Linked DNA regions of Homo sapiens: regions 2, 3 and 4 are each linked to region 1. The links are contacts of gene promoters, found by promoter capture Hi-C in human tissues and cell types (Jung and others, 2019). All regions are on one chromosome and are shown on one strand. The core of a region is centred on a gene start or on the middle of the fragment in contact, and the rest is flanking DNA. Distances in the headings are between cores, read along the strand shown.

Region 1 (4,009 bases), core at 1,174-3,673:
CATATATGTTACACAACACCAAAGAGTAAAAATGGCAGACATCACAAAGTAATGGTATACTAGTATTCAAACCAAGAAGAGATTCTTGTTTCCCCAACACACTACAAAAAAGGCGGGGGCGGGGGGGCGGTGTGGGGAGAAAATAGGGGCGGGGGGGGCGGTGTGGGGAGAAAATAGTTTCTATTCTCTCTCTTTCTGCTGGGGTGCAGTGACATGCACTCCTGCACGCACCACAGCCTCAACCTCCCAGGCTCAGGTGATCCTCCCACCTCAGCCTGCAGAGTAGCTGGGACTACAGGTTCGCACCACCATGCCCAGCTAATTTTCGTATTTTTCGTAAAGATGGAGTTTCCCCACGTTGCCCAGGCTGGTCTTGAACTCCTGGAATCAAGTGATCTGCCTACCTCGGATAATTTCTATTCTGTATTTCTTCTGTACTTGAGTAAAAGACTGATTATCAGCTAATAAGAACTTAGATGGAAATAACCCTCATTAAATCAAGTAGAAAAACTGACCTCTTGAGAAATTTCAAACACCAACATGCAAATATAGCATATAACTGTCAGTACTAGGATGGTTTTTGCACATGTTAATGGCTTTCAGAAGGATGGGATCTTTACTTTTCTCTCCTGCCACTCTGTATTTTGCCAACAGGTTTACTGACCAAAATAAACTCTATTTTGTGTAAAAAGAAAAAAACAACTTATTGATTTTAAACTATTTATGCTGACACACTATATCCCTAATTCTTTTACTTCCTCATGCTTAAAAAGCACTGAGACTCTCTTTTAAAAGTATGTGGAAAGTTTCTAGTGTGCAGCTAGAAGACACTTCTGAATCACTTACTATCAAAGACTTAATTTATATTATCTCTAACTTTTTACAAAAACAGGTTAGTTTTGATGATAAAAGTCCCAGTGTTTTAAAACATTGTGGTTAGAGTGAGCAATATTTACTCAAAATATTTACAGAGCACTTACTATATGTCCCAGACTGAACAAAATTATGTTCAATAAAAAATAATCCTCGTAATTTGTTTGATGCTTCTGAGTCTCCAAACATTACAAATATTGTTACAAATACTAGAATACGTAGGCAAGATTGAGCAGAATCTTTCCCAATCCTATCGCAGACCAAGGAAATGTGTTTCTAAAACAATTTCTATTGCTTCAACTATTTAAAAGCCAAAAAAACAAACAAACAAACAAACGAGTACAGGGTGTCTATAGTTTCCAGTGTTTGGATAGCCACTAATACTTTGAACAGTAAGTTCCTTCTGATAGCACTTATACCCTATACTATGTACCTCCTGGAAAATGATGGGGAAACCGCTCCTTCTCAATAGAAAAGATACTATTAAGAAATGAAAGCACTTAATATCAATATACTAATTTCTAAAATCCGTTTCTCTGAACTCTAATCGAAGTAGCAGAGAAAAGGAAAATTATACTTCTCCTCTGTCACTCTAGAAATAACAGTTATTTTGCCAACATTTCTGCATTCAAAAAAAAATGAGTTAGCTATGAGAAGACCAGAGAAACTGATGCCCAATTTAGGTCACGATCACAAAACTGTGGAAGACAAAAAGCACAGCCTACGCAGAAAAATCGGATATTCCTTCCCAACACCCGCAGAACTCTAGATACACGTTTTGTTTTTCTTTTTTTAAAATGCTGCTTCGGCGTTCTCGAAACCTGGTGGAATTATACTGCAGGAAAACACTGGCGCTCACGCACCGTAGCGTCTCTCAGCCTCAACAGAGCGATTCCAAAACTAACTCCGCAGTCCCTGGGCAAGGCAAGGAGGGAAATAAAACACCCGTCTCACGAAAGCCAACAGTGATGGGAACAGCCAGCCCACCGAGCCCAGCGAGACCCGAGTGCCCCGCGCGTCCCCCAGGTGCCCTTGGAGGCAGCGGCACGCGGACGAGGCCGCGCCCGGTCCCAGCGGACTCCAGTTCCGCCCGCCGGCCCCATCCTTCCCTCTCCTGTCCCCGGGACCCGCCGGGCTAGCCAGGCCCGCCGCGCCGGCTCCGCCCCTGGCCGGGCCCCGGATTCTCCGCCTTGATGCAACGCTGCCCCGGGAGGGCGGGTGCGGCAGAGCCCGGAGAGCCCTGGGGCCCCCAGCAAGGCCCTCCTCCCACAGGCCCCAAAGGCTGGCGCGGGAGTGGGCGCTGGCGCGGGAGTGGGCACTGCCGCAGCACCGACCAGGCCTGCGGCCGGGGTCTGGCCCGAGCGAACGCCGCCTGCTGCTCTCACCTGCGTTCCCACTACGACGATTTGAGGCAGCTGGATGATGTCGGCGCCCACCGTGTTGAAGACGTCCTGGAGCTTGTTTATGACAGGAATTAGCGCCTCCATGACTCTGAAAACACGGGGCCCCAGTGCCCGCCGGCCACGGCAATGAATGGGGCCGGGGCCCACAGTTCGCCTCCTTCCTCCTCTCCTCCGCCCTCTCCTCGGAAGCCGGCACCCATTGGACCGGGCCCGCCGGCTACCTGCCCCCTCCCGGCAGGCCATGCGCTGCGAGGGAGGTGGAGAGGAGCAAGGCCTGCTGGGAGTTGTAGTTCTGGAGCGGAGGAACGCTACTCCCCACAGCTTCCAGGAGGCTGCGCGGCACCGGTGGGCCCTAGCCTGGGACTGGGATGCTGCGCAGGCTCTAGTCAAAGGCTAGGAGCAGGCCGGGAGCGCAGGAGGAAGGCCGTAAATTTATGCCTGTCCTCAAGGCACGATGGATGTGACAGTGCTGGGTGTGAATATGTGTTAAAGGCGCAATGGTGTGTCTCTTAATTATCCAGTGTCACTTCCTTTTATTTATTTTTTATTTATTTATTTTTTTTTTTTTTTTGAGACGGAGTCTCACTCTGTCGCCCAGGCTGGAGTGCAGTGGCGCGATCTCGGCCCACTGCAAATTCCGCCTCCCGGGTTCACGCCATTCTCCTGCCTCAGCCTTCGGAGTAGCTGGGACTACAGGCACCCACCACTACGCCCGGCTAATTTTTTGTATTTTTAGTAGAGACGGGGTTTCACTGTGTTTTCCAGGATGGTCTCGATCTCCGGACCTAGTGATCCACCCGCCTCGGCCTCCCAAAGTGTTGGGATTACAGGCGTGAGCAGTGTGACTTCCTTATGAAGACACTTTCTCTAGAAGGACGGGTTGGAAAGGCTTAAAGAAAAGCTTATGGCCGCAAACAACCAAACTGGGTGCAAAAAAATCTGCACGCTGATACGAGAATGTGTGGGGTGTTATTTTGCAAAAATACAAAAACCAGCCCAGGTTAGAATACGCGGGTTCTCCAGGGGTTTTGTAAACAAACAAACAAACAAACAAAATGTGTGTTCAGGACCGAGCGCGGTGTAATCCCAGCACTTTAGGAAGCAGAAGCAGGAGGATCGCTTGAGCTGGGAGTTCGAGACCAGCCTGGTCAACATAGTGAGACCTCATCTCTACCAAATAAATAAATAAATAAATAAAAAAGCAGGGGTCGGAGCAGCGGGGGGCGGTGTTCATGAAAAAAATCTTAGAGTATTGGAGTTTTACAGGGGAAGAGCTGGGCATTTATTATCAATATTATGTATAAACCTTTATTTGCTGTAGCCTGATTCCTGGCAAAGTAGACATCTGATAACTGCCTTACTCACTCTTTGCTCATACCGTTCTTTTTTTTTTTTGAGACAGAGTCTGACTCTGTCGCCCAGGCTGGAATGCAGTGGCGCAATCTCGGCTCACTGCAGCCTCCTCCTCCCAGGCTGAAGTGATTCTCCTGCCTCAGCCCCCCAAGTAGCTGTTATTACAGGCACCCGCCACCACCCTGGGAAAATTTTTGTATTTTTAGTAGAGACGGGTGGGGGGCGGGGTTTCACCATGTTAGCCAGGCTGGTCTCGAACTCCTGACCTCAAGTGATCCGCCCATCTTGGCCTCCCACAGTCCTGGGATTACAGGCCTGAGCCACCATGCCCGGCCCATACTGTTATATTTCTAAATGTTGTTTTTCTTTTTAGACAGATA
Region 2 (4,019 bases), core at 335-2,834, 630 kb after region 1:
GACAGAGTGAGACCCTGTCTCAAAAAAATAAAATAAAATAAAATAAAATAAAGAAGACAGAAAGAAAATGTATTTATTTAAAAAGAAAAGAAAGCAGCGATGATAAAGCACCCTGCACCCCCAGTACCCCCACCCCCAACCTGAACCCCATGCAACCCCCATCCTCCACCACCTTTTGTTTTTCAAAATCCCCCATTCTTTTGTGTTCTTGGAGAAGACTTGCTCAGAGAACCATCCTTCTGCATAGGACATAGGTACAACTCACCGTCCACTCTCTTGTGACCCCACGGTTCTCAGGGTTGGCTCCCTTGTTCATCTGCAACAAGGCCAAACACAAATCCTCCAATTTCCCATTCTTTGCTGTAGTTGACTAGCTAAGATTAGAACAATTTGTTTCCCTGAGAATAATATTTCTGGTTCAGCTAAGTGACAGACAGTTCTGCATACAAAACAACCCCAACTGCATATCACCCCACTTCAGCTTGTTTACTCCTCTCTATATAAGTCTAGGGCAAAAGCACCCTGCTGAGATCCTCTGATCTTTGCCTCTCAAGTGTTCTTTAATCAATCTGCCTACTTCTCTGGGTTTTGTCTTTGACACAACCCTCGATTTCTCTTTGAAGAAGTGTCACCTTCACCAAACCCAAGTGTGTCCTCCAGATAGATTACTGCTCACCCTGCATAATGCCTCCCAGGTAAACCTTCTCCCCTAAAAGAGAAATACCTCTTTTTTTTTTTTTTTAAGACAGTCTTGCTCTATTGCCCAGGCTGGAGTGCAGAGTGCAGTGGCTCAATCATGGCTCACTGCAGCCTCATCCTCCCAAGCTCAAATGATCCTCCCACCTCAGTCTCCTGAGTAGCTGAGACTACAGGCAAAGGCCACCACACCCAGCTAGTTTTATTATTATTATTATTATTATTATTATTATTATTATTATTATTGAGACTGAGTCTCACTCTGTCTCCCAGGCTGGAATGCAGTGACCCAATCTCGGCTCATTGCAGCCTCTGCCTCCCGGGCTCAAATGATTCTCCTACCTCAGCTTCCCAAGTAGCTGGGATTACAGGTGCACGCCACCATACACAGTTAATTTTTATATTTTTAGTAGAGACAGGGTTTTGCCATGTTGGCCAGGCTGGTCTCAAACTCCTGACCTCAGGTGATCTGCCTGCATTGGCCTCCCAAAGTGCTGGGATTACAGGCATGAGCCACTGTGCCCGGCCCCAGCTAAATGTTTATTTTTTGTAGAGATAGGATTTTGCTATGTTGCCCAGGCTGGTCTTGAACTCCTGGGCTCAAGCAAACTGTCTGCCTTGGCTTCCTAAAATGCTAGGATTACAGGCATGCCCAGCCTTCTCTTCATTTTTAAAACTCAAACTTCATAGAACATATGTATCTCTCAATATAACATTTCTGGCTAACAATTCTATAGAAAAGTCACAAAATTTTTACATCCTAAACATGATACAATATTTTTCAAAAAATGAAATGCAAGAAAGGCCTTTTATTCCAAATATTATTGCTATTTCTTCAGAGTCTGTTGAGGCAATCCTCAACATTGTATCTGCCCCAAAGGATGTGTTGAAGTCCTAACCCCTGGTACCTGTGAATGTGACCTTACTTGGAAATAGTCTTTGCAGATGTAATTAAGATTTAAGTTAGAATGAGGTTATACTTGAGTACTATATTTGGTCCATTTTGCATTGTATAAAGGAATAGCTAAGGCTGGGTAATTTACAAAGAAAAGAAGTTTAATTGCCTCACAGTTCTGCAGACTGTACAAGAAGTGTCAGAGATGATAAATTCCTCTTCAAAAAGCTTTCGTTCCCTGTTCTTTGTTTCTTAAAACCAACTTCCTTGTACTTCCTTGTCTCCTAGCTACCTGTTCTGTAAACAACCTTCCTGCCTTTGCCATGCCCAGACAAGTCCAGATATGCCTTCCCGCCTAGTAACAGACTCTTTTCCCACCTAGTAACGGACTCTTCACCTAATAGACCCTATTCAATTTTAAACCTTAGCCAATCGAGTTAGCTTAGATTGTGAGGTCCAACCCCAGCCAATGGGGAAAGGACACAGAAGTGCTAGGAACTGCATTAGAGATAAAAACCCCTTTCCTACCCTGCTCGGTGTGCTCTTGCGATAATGACTGGCGCAAGCTGCACCCTTCTGCAGAAGAAAATTTGCCTTGCTGAGAAATCTTGTGTTTGAGTGCTCATTTTCTTTACGACTCTGAGCTTTTATTTCTAACAGAACAAGGTGCCAGTGTCTGTTTCTGGGGAAGCCTCAGGAAGCTTCCAATCATGGTGGAAGGCAAGGAGAGCCAGTGTGTCACATGGCGAGAGATTTTAACAATCAGATTGCACATTAACTAATAGAGCAAGAACTCATTCATTACTGTAAGGAGGGCATCAAGCCATTCATGAGGGATCTGTCCCCATGACCCAAACATCTCCTACTAGGCCCCACTTCCAACACTGGGGGTCACATTTCAATTTGAGATTTGGAGGGGACAAATATTCAAACTATATTAAGTAGTATGGACTCAATCCAATATGACTGCTGTCCTTATGAGAAGCAGAGAAGAGACACGGAGACAGACCCAGGAAGAATGCTATGAGGCAATGGAGACAGTGATTAAAGTGCTGTATCAACAAGCATTTACTGGCAACACCAGAAGCTAAAAGTAAGGCATGGAACAGATTTCTTCCCTGGAGCCTTCAGAAGGAGCATGGCCCTGCCAAGACCTTGATTTTGGACCTCTGACTTCCAGAACTGTAAGATAATACATTTTCTGTTTTTTTAACCCACCCAGTTTGTGGTGCTTTGTTATGGCAGCTCTAGAAAGCTAATATAGAGTCCCTATGAACGTTTTGGAAAATTGTGGCGCGATCAACAAAAGGGGCTGGGCACAGTGGCTCACGCCTATAATCCCAGCATTTTGGGAGGCTGAGGCCAGAGGATCACTTGAACCCAGGTGTTTGAAATAAGCCTGAGCAACATAGTGAGACCCTGTCTATACAAAAAATACAAAAATTAAGGCTGGGTGCAGTGGCTCATGCCTGTAATCCCAGCACTTTGGGAGGCCAAGGTGGGTGGATTACCTGAGATCAGGAGTTCACGACCAGCCTGGCCAACATGGTGAAACCCCATCTTTACTAAAAATACAAAAAATTGGCCAGGAGTGGTGGCTCACGCCTATAATCCCAGAATTTTGGGAGGTTGAGGTAGGTGGATCACCTGAGGTCAGAAGTTCAAGACCAGCCTGACCAACACGGTAAAACCCCATCTGTACTAAAAATACAAAATTAGCCAGGCGTGGTGGTGGGCACCTGTATTCCCTGTTACTCAGGAGGCTGAGGCAGGAGAATTGCTTGAACCCAGGAGGAGGAGGTTGCCACTGCACTCCAGCCTGGGTGACAGAGTGAGACTCTGTCTCAAAAAATAAAAATAAAAATAAAAATAATTAGTTGGGTGTGGTGGCCTGAGCTTGTAGTCCCAGCTACTCTGGAGGCTGAGGTAAGAGAATCGCTTGAGCCCAGGAGGCAGAGGTTGCAGTGAGCTGAGATTGCACCACTGCACTCCAGCCTGGGTGACAGGGCGAGACTCTGTCTCAAAAAAAAAAGAACAAAAATTAGCTGGGTGTGGTGGAGCACGTGTGTAGTCCAGCTACTCAGAAGGCTGAGGTGGGAGGATCACTGGAGCCTGGGAGGTCAAAGCTGCAGTAAGCCATGATCACGCCACTGCCCTCAAGCCTGGGTGACATAGTAAGACCCTGTCTTAAAAAACAAAACACGAAACAGGCTTGGTGCGGTGGCTCACGCCTGTAATCCCAGCGCTTTGGGAGGCCGAGGCAGTTGGATGGCTTCAGCTCAAGAGTTCAAGACCAACCTAGGAAACAAGGTGAAACTCTGTCTCTACAAAGAATTCAAAAATCTAGCCAGGCATGGTGGTACACTTCTGTAGTCCCAGCTACTCAGGAGGCTAAAGCTGGAGGATCGATTGAGCCAGGAGGTAGTGG
Region 3 (4,065 bases), core at 620-3,119, 600 kb after region 1:
CACCCAGCAAAGCCATGGGGGTAGGGCCACCAGGAGCTTTGAGAGTCCAACCCTCACCCATTGTGTCCAGATGGTCTGTCATGGAGTCAAAGAAGATGGCTCTCAGGCCTTAAAATCTAATGTTGTTGGTCCCGTTGGGTTTTGGGCTTTTACTTGGGACTTGTTATCCCTTTCTTCTTTCCTATTTCTCACTTTTGGAAGAAGTGTGTCTATCCCATGCCTGTCTCCATTGTATTTTGGAAACATGTGACTTGTTTAATTTCACAGGTATGAGCTAGAGGGGAATTTGCCTCAGGTTAAATCATGCCTTGAGTCTCAACCATATCCGTGTAACAAGAGACTCTGGACTTTTGAGTAGATGATGAAACAAGTTAGGACATTTGGGGCTACTGGCATGGAATGAATGCATTTTGCATGTGAGAAGGATATTTTGGGAGGATGGGGGGCGGAATGCTATGGTTTGAATGTTTGTGTCCCCTCCAAAATTCATGTTGAAACTTAATCCCCAATGCAACAGTGTTGGGAGGCGGGGCCTAATGAGAGGTGGTTAAATCATGAGGGCTCTGCCCTGGTGAATGGATTAACTTTGCCATAAAACAAGCTTGCAGGAGTGTGTTCTCTCTCTCCTGCACTTCTGCCACATGAGGACTCAGCGTTCCTCTTCTCTGGAGGATGCAGCAACAAGGCATCATCATGGAACCAGAGACTCAACCATTGGTGCCTTTATCTTGAATGTCCTAGGCTCCAGAACTGTGAGAGAATAGATTTCTGTTCCTCATAAGTTACCCAGTCTGTGGTATTCTGTTATAGCAGCACAGAATGGACTAAGACAAATCCCTTTCTGCTTAAATTGGCTAGATTGCATTACTTTGCTTGGAATTAAGAACCTGACAAATACAAGCCTGCTCCCTGAATTGCAAGAGCATTTTGGGGAATTCAATAGACCTGGATATGAAAACTGGCTCTACTAATTGCTGGCTGAGAGGCCTTACGCAAGCTCTCTAACATTACTGTGCTTATGTTTCCTCTGCTATAAAAGGATGGTGGAGGAGGAGGCTAATACCTACCACATTGGGCTGATTGTGAAGATCGAATGAGGTAATGTCTGTAACATATGTGGTGTGGTGCCTGGCACATAGTAGGTCCTCCATATATCATCGTTTCCTATATTTTAAAAATATAATTTTTTTTGGAGTGGAGTACCAAACCTTTTAGAGAAAAGTGCAGCTGAACATCCAGTGGTGGGCAAGAACAAGTAGACAGCTCAAAGCTAGGACACTAGGAAAAATAAAATTCTGAGAGAGGTTGGGGCCAGGAGTATGTGCATGTGAGGACACAGTAAATGTCGTATGAGATAAAGCCTAGAAATAAGACCAGACTGATGTGTTAAAAGAAGAAAATTAACTACAAGTTAGAAAGGCATGCTTTTCTACTCGGGAGGCTGAGGGAGGTGAATCGCTTGAACCCAAGAGGCAGAGGTTGCAGTGAGCCGAGATCGCGCCATTGCACTCCAGCCTGGGATAGAGTGAGTCTCCGTCTCAAAAAAAAAAAAAAGAAAAGAAAAAGAAATGCATGCTTTTGCAAATAAAAGAAAACACAACTTCAGGCTTAAACAAATAATAGGTAATTTTTCCCACAGCATAAATTCAGAGGTGGATTGTTGCTGGCATCAGTTCAACTGCAAAATGATGCCATCAGGGATTCAGATTTCTTCCCACCCTGCTGTGCTTGGCATATTGGCATTTGTCCTCATGTGTGCCATCTCAAGATTTCGAAGAGGCCGCTCCTGCTGCTCCAGGAATGCCCCCCGTTCAAGCTGGTGAAAAAGGGGAGGGGGAAAGCTTTTTTCTCTGGTGCTTTTGTGTGTTTTTCGGGAAAGGAATCCCTCTCAAGTCAGCTCCACTTCCATCTCATTTGCCAGACTGGATCATGTATCCACTCTAAATAAATTATTAGTCAAGGGAATAAGATCACAGGAACACTATGATTTTTTAAAATGCCATGTTAGGCCAGGCACAGTGGCTCATGCCTGTAATCTCAACGCTTTGGGAGGCCAAGGCTAGCAGATTGCTTGAGCTCAGGAGTTCGAGACCAGGCTGGGCAACATGGCAAAACCCCATCTCTACAAAAAATACAAAAATTAGTCAGGTGTGGTGGCGTGTGCCTGTGGTCCCAGCTACTTGGGAGGATGAGGTGGGCAGATGGCTTGAGCCCAGGAGGTTGAAGCTGCAGTGAGCCAAGATTGCGCCACTGCACTCCAGTATGGGCAGCAGAGCGAGATTCCGTCTCAAAAAAAAAATTTTTTTTTAATTAAAAATAAATAAATAAAGTGAAATATTATGTTAGCTTTGTGGTTTAGAAAGGGAAAGTCATGACAGACTCCCACTCCAAAAAGGTGGACAGATAAGAGTAAATTGAAGCAACAGAGTCACGCTATCTTTTCGCCACTCATTACTGGAAGTCCTTGTGAAGTGCCAAGCAGAGGAGCCTTTCTCAAAACCATACGTAGCCCCAGCCTCCAGATCTGCTGGGAATTAAACAGTGAGCTAGCAGGGAGGCGGAAGTAAGCCTAGAACAGACAAGCTGGGACTAAGAAAACATATTGGTAATAGACGCAATGCCCAAAGTGAAGACAGTATCTTAAAATTTAAAAGTCCAAAGCTAAGGAATCCATTCTGATAGACAGGAACCTCAGCATAGGAGTCTATGGGTACTGGTGAAACTTGCTGTCAAAATTATGGTACCATTGTGGATTCAGGGATAGCCAGGACACAGGACAAAGCTGTGGCTTCCGGGCACTGAGGCCAACTCCACTGGGAAGAAAAGAGAAGGCTAAAAGGAGCTATGCAGAAAATCTGGTTCATCACCAAATGGGCTAGGTTAATGGTGAGACTCACATCCTAGTAGGCACCTAAGAAGAATCCCATTCAATCAAACTGGACACATAAATTGCGGAGTGAGGAAGTGAGAAGAGGGAAAGTACCTCGAACTTTTCCCTAAGCTCATTTCAGCAGACCAGCTCCAGATCCTTCCCAGATGTTGGAGGTCCTAATCCAGTCAGATTTATTTTTCCTTGACTGTGCAGGGCTAGACCCAAGCTATGACACTCAGCTGTTGAAAGAGGGAATATTAATTCCTTCAACAACTTGAGCATCCTTTAGGTGCCAAGCACCATTCTAAGTGCTGGAGATACAACAGTAGACAGATGTAATCCCCACCCTCATGGAGTTCATTGGTTCCCCCTGAATAATTGTGGGGAAAAAAAAAAACTACTGACAAAGGCTGCAGCTTACCAAGGCTTCAGCATCCCCTGACCTAAGAAGAAATGTGAATCTCATGCAGGGATTAAAGATGTGTAAAATGCCAACCCTGTCTCCAAGGCCTGATGGCCTAAAGGGAAAGTTTCAATGAGGACACTCCTCCAGGAGACCTCTAAAGAGGCATAACCACCAACACAGAGACCATGACAGCTTCGAGAAACCAGCACTCCTGCCTCTCAGGGAGTGTTCCTGCACTTTCACGTAGGGCAAGGGCTGCATCTAGAGCTGCCCTTACTCTAGAACAGGGAAAGGCAGCTGGAGCATCCTCCACAAATCACCTGCCCCCTCTCCTTTGCTTCTTACCGTTATGTTTCCAGAGTCTGATATTCCTCTGGTAAACAGTGGACATCACCTGGTGATCAGTATACATCAAGAACAAGAGCACTGATGATAAATGTTATTAATACTAGAACTGTCATGCAACTGTCTACATTTCTTTTTTTTCTTTTTGATACAAAGTCTTGCTCTTGTCACCCAGGCTGGAGTGCAGTGGCGCATGCAGTGGCGCAATCTCAGCTCACTGCAACCTCCGCCTCTCGGGTTCAACTGACTCTTCTGCCTCAGCCTCCCCAGTAGCTGGGATTACAGGCACCCGCCACTGTGCCCAGCTAATTTTTTATTTTTAGTAGAGACAGGGATTTCAGTATGTTGGCCAGGCTGGTCTCGAACTCCTGACCTCAAGTGATCCACCTGCCTCGGCCTCCCAAGTGCTAGGATTACAGGTGTGAGCCACTAAGCCTGGCCA
Region 4 (4,026 bases), core at 1,467-3,966, 710 kb after region 1:
ACAGGGTCCCACCACCATGCCAGGCTAATTTTGTATTTTTAGTAGAGACAGGGTTTCACCATGTTGGCCAGGCTGGTCTCGAACTCCTGACCTTGTGATCCGCCGCACCCAATCCCTTATGATTTTCTTAATAAAATTTCCTTTTCTCAAGCTTATTCTAAGAATACAGCATATAATACATGTAACATACAAAATATGTGTTTATCAACTGTTTAATGTTACTGTTAAGGCTTCCACTGAACAGCATGCTATTGTTAATCAAGTTTTGGCGGAGTCAAAAGTTAAATGTGGATTTTTTTTACTGCACAAGAGTCAGTTATCCTAATTCCTATGTTATTCAATGGTCAACTATATTTAAATGGCAAAATTTTTGGTAAGTGCTAAATCCATTATGAATATCAGAAATGTAAATGAAAACCATAAGGTGGTAATACTATACACAATGGCTAGAATTTTTTCAACTCTCAATACCACATGTTGGCAAGAAAATGGAACAAATGGAACTCTCCTACAATGGTGATAGGAGTATATCATGATCCTTAAAGTAACCAACACTTTGGAAAGACGTATGGCATCATCTACCAAGGGTTAATAAATGCAAGCCCTGAGACCTAGAAGTTTCATTCCTAGGTATGTACCAAACAGAAATGCATAATTATAACACTGCCAGCAGCATTAGGTGCAGTAAGCAAAAACTGGAAACAAACAAAATAGAAATGTATTCATATTAATGAAACACTATAGTAACAAAAATAAAAGGCTATATGCAACATGAATCTAACAAACACAAGACTGAGTGAAAAAGGCCAGAGATTAAAGAATAATCCATGATTCCATTTATATAAAGATTGAAACACAGACAAAACCAACCATCTAGGGACTGTAGTGGTACTTTTTACAAAGTGTGATGGAATAGCAATTGGTAGTTAAGTAGCATGAAGACTGCTTTTGACCAGGGTGATACTTACACACAAGTGTGTTCCCTACATAATCCACTGCATTATACACTTACCATTTGTACCCTTTCTTAGGTATGTTTTGATTTCATAAAGTTATTTTTTAAAGCTCTCTTATAATAGTAGATGCATACTATTAAGCATTTATCAAAACCCGTAAGACCCATTGGATACAGAGTAAACTCTAATGTTAGTGATGGACTTTAATAATAACATATCAGTATGACTAATCCAAGTTGCTAATAGTGGAACCTTAGAGTTTTGGAGATGGGAGGTTCCTATAAAGCTCTTATATGGGAATGCTCTGTACTATAAGCTCAGTTTTCTTTTTCTTTTTTTTTCAGATGGAGTCTCGCTCTGTCGCCCAGGCTGGAGTGCAGTGGCACGATCTGCAACCTCCACCTCCCGGGTTCAAGCAATTCTCCTGCCTCAGCCTCCCGAGTAGCTGGGACTACAGGCGCGCGCCACCATGCCTGACTCATTTTTTATATTTTTGCTAGAGATGGGGTTTCACCATGTTGGCCAAGATGGTCTCAAACTCCTGACCTCATGATCTGCCTGCCTTGGCCTCCCAAAGTGCTGGGATTACAGGCGTGAACCACCATGCCTGACCTCAATTTTCTTTAAACCTAAAACTCTTCTAGAAAATAAAGTCTATCCGTTAAAAAAAAAAAAAAAAGGCAGCCACCACATGCTGACACTCATTTTACAACTCTCAGGCGTTAGGACTCTGTTCCTCTCACTACTTTGACTAGTCCACAAGGTTGGAAGCAGAATGGGTCACAGTGTTCACTGACAGAAGAAAAGCAGCACTTCTAAGGAGAATTAATGATGCTTCATAACTGCCCGTCCCCCTCACTGTCCCCTGGCTTTTACGTCAACTTGGAGGAGAGAGTCTCATGAACTGAATTGTACCCTCCCCAAAATTCATAAGTGAAAGCCCTGACCCTCAGTGTATTTGGAGATAGGGCCTTTAAGGAGATAATTGGTTAAGTGAGGTCATTAGAGTGGGGCTCTAATCCGACTAGTATCCCCCATAGGAAGAGGGACACCAGCGATGTCGGCCCACAGAGGAAGGACCACGTTAGGACACAGCAAGAAGACAGTCACCTGCAAGCCACTGAGAGAGAAGCTTCAAGAGAACAGAAATCAAACATATTGACCCTGGACTTCTAGCCGCCGGAACTGGGAGAAATAAATTTCTCCACCCAGTCTGTGGCATTACTGTCATAGTAGCCCACGATAAGAAATACATACTTGGTCTCTGCCCATGATTCCAGACACGGGGCACCTAAAACTCTTGTAGATTGGGGTATACAATCTTTTGCACTAATACGTGGTCTTTGAACCCGGTTCCTGACACAGAGCTCCTGAGACCTTTGTAATCTCCTGAGTAACAGGAGTGTCTGGTAACATAGAGGTGACCGTAGGGTGGGGCAGCACCTGGAGAGGGCATGGAAGCGCTCACATATGCATTCCCCCATGCATCTCTTCCACCTGGCTCTTCATCTAATAGGCTTTATAATAAGTAAACTATTTCCCTGAGTTCTGTGAGCTCTAGCAAATTAATCAAATCCACGGAGGGAGTCTTGACAATCCCCTCTTTGTAACAGGTTGGTCAAAAGTACAGGTCTGGCGAAGTCAGGGGCAGTCTTGTGGGACTGAGTCCTCAACCTGTGGGATCTGAAGCTTTCTCCAGGTAGATGATGCCAACATGTAATTGAATTGTAGGACACCCAGTTGTTGTCAGCTGGAAAACAGTTTGCGGATGGGAAGAAATCCAAATACATTCTGGTGACCAGAGATGAAGTGGTCAGTTGTGTGAAGAAGTTTTGGTTTTCCTATCTCAAACACAGCCCTAGCAATTAATACAGAGCATATGGGTAGGAAGGGAAACTATCTTTATGTTAATTTGGTTTTTTTTTTTTCCTCCATCCCTCTCCTTCACTGGCATAGAAGAAAACTGAAAACTCGAAAAGCACTCCGGAACGACCTAAATTGAAGTTTTTGGAAGATTGCCTACTAGCTACACAAATAGACTGTGAAAGGAAAATACAATCGACCCTTGAACAACATAGGGATTACGACTTAGGGTGGCAGTAGAGTGGCAGATGCAGAAGAAACTCCAAGTGTAGCCAGACAAGGTAGTGTGTGGATGCAGTCCCAGATACTCAGGAGGCAGAGATGGGAGGACTGTTTGAGCCCAGATGTTTGAGGCTGTAATGTGCTATGACTGTACACTGCACTCCAGCCTGGGCAACAGAGAGTGACCTCATCTCTTAAAAAAAAAAAAGTCAAATCCATGTGTATGTGGATCCACATGGGTCAAACTCACATTGTTCAAGGGTCAGCTGCAGTCTCTAGGATGGCATAATCTACTTGTGGATATAATGTATTCTTAGAACTTTCAAGAATATATTCTAACACAGATTACCATAGACAAGTTTCCATGGTCCATCACTACCATTTCTCTGAGAGAATAAATTCTCGCCCCAAGATCTCTGCCAGCCTCCATCACTGATAGTTTAATATAAAAAATACTTTTAAAAAGAATTTGTGCTTCCATGAAGTTACAAAAAATACAGTGAAAATATCGTTAAAGAAATTAAAAACAGAAAAAACAAAGAGAAATTAAAATGCTACATTAGAAAATACTCATTTATGCAAAATAAACCCCACTAAGGAATAAGAAAGGAATAAAAAGACGAGACATAAAAACAAAAAGTAAAACATTAGAGGTAAATGTAATTATATAAAAAATAACATTTTTATATAAACAATTCTGAGAATGTAGGAATAAACTTTCTCACACTTCTGACACCAGATGTGTGGGTGTCTCACCCCACATAACAAGCAATCAGTTCTGCAGTGTACACACCAGGTGGGTGTCCTCTAATTCATTTTAATTCCAAGACTATCTATATGAAGATAGTGTCAGATCTCATCAGTTTAGGGCTCAGTCCTGCAAGACTGCCCCCACTTTTTTTTTTTTTTTTTTTTGAGACGGAGTCTCACTCTGTCACCCAGGCTGGAGTGCAGTGGCACCATCTTGGCTCACTGCGAGCTCCGC

The links. The method cuts DNA at HindIII sites, captures the fragments that hold promoters and counts their contacts. A contact is called where the count stands out against the background at its distance.
Region 2: a contact is called between a fragment that was not itself captured here and the fragment with the promoter of DNM1L in region 1, in 1 of the 25 tissues and cell types used here (thymus).
Region 3: a fragment that was not itself captured here is called in contact with the fragment with the promoter of DNM1L in region 1 in 1 of the 25 tissues and cell types used here (lymphoblastoid cells).
Region 4: a contact is called between a fragment that was not itself captured here and the fragment with the promoter of DNM1L in region 1, in 1 of the 25 tissues and cell types used here (spleen).

The regions. Positions count from the first base shown.
Region 1 is chr12:32,677,715-32,681,723 of GRCh38, reverse strand. DNM1L (dynamin 1 like) reads right to left here and starts at 2,423. Exons shown (of 20, transcript NM_012062.5): 1 at 2,259-2,423. The coding sequence starts at 2,360. RefSeq lists a silencer at 1,866-2,275. The HindIII fragment of the contact is 15,512 bases long and covers 1-3,816 here.
Region 2 is chr12:32,042,277-32,046,295 of GRCh38, reverse strand. No RefSeq gene overlaps it. Among named protein-coding and RNA genes, the nearest start is that of BICD1, 63 kb to the left of the region's middle. RefSeq lists a silencer at 2,234-2,434. The HindIII fragment of the contact is 5,154 bases long and covers 1-4,019 here.
Region 3 is chr12:32,074,818-32,078,882 of GRCh38, reverse strand. No RefSeq gene overlaps it. Among named protein-coding and RNA genes, the nearest start is that of BICD1, 30 kb to the left of the region's middle. RefSeq lists a silencer at 2,341-2,541. The HindIII fragment of the contact is 3,631 bases long and covers 54-3,684 here.
Region 4 is chr12:31,972,536-31,976,561 of GRCh38, reverse strand. All of the region lies in intron 3 of RESF1 (retroelement silencing factor 1), which reads right to left. Among named protein-coding and RNA genes, the nearest start is that of RESF1, 15 kb to the right of the region's middle. The HindIII fragment of the contact is 3,191 bases long and covers 1,121-4,026 here.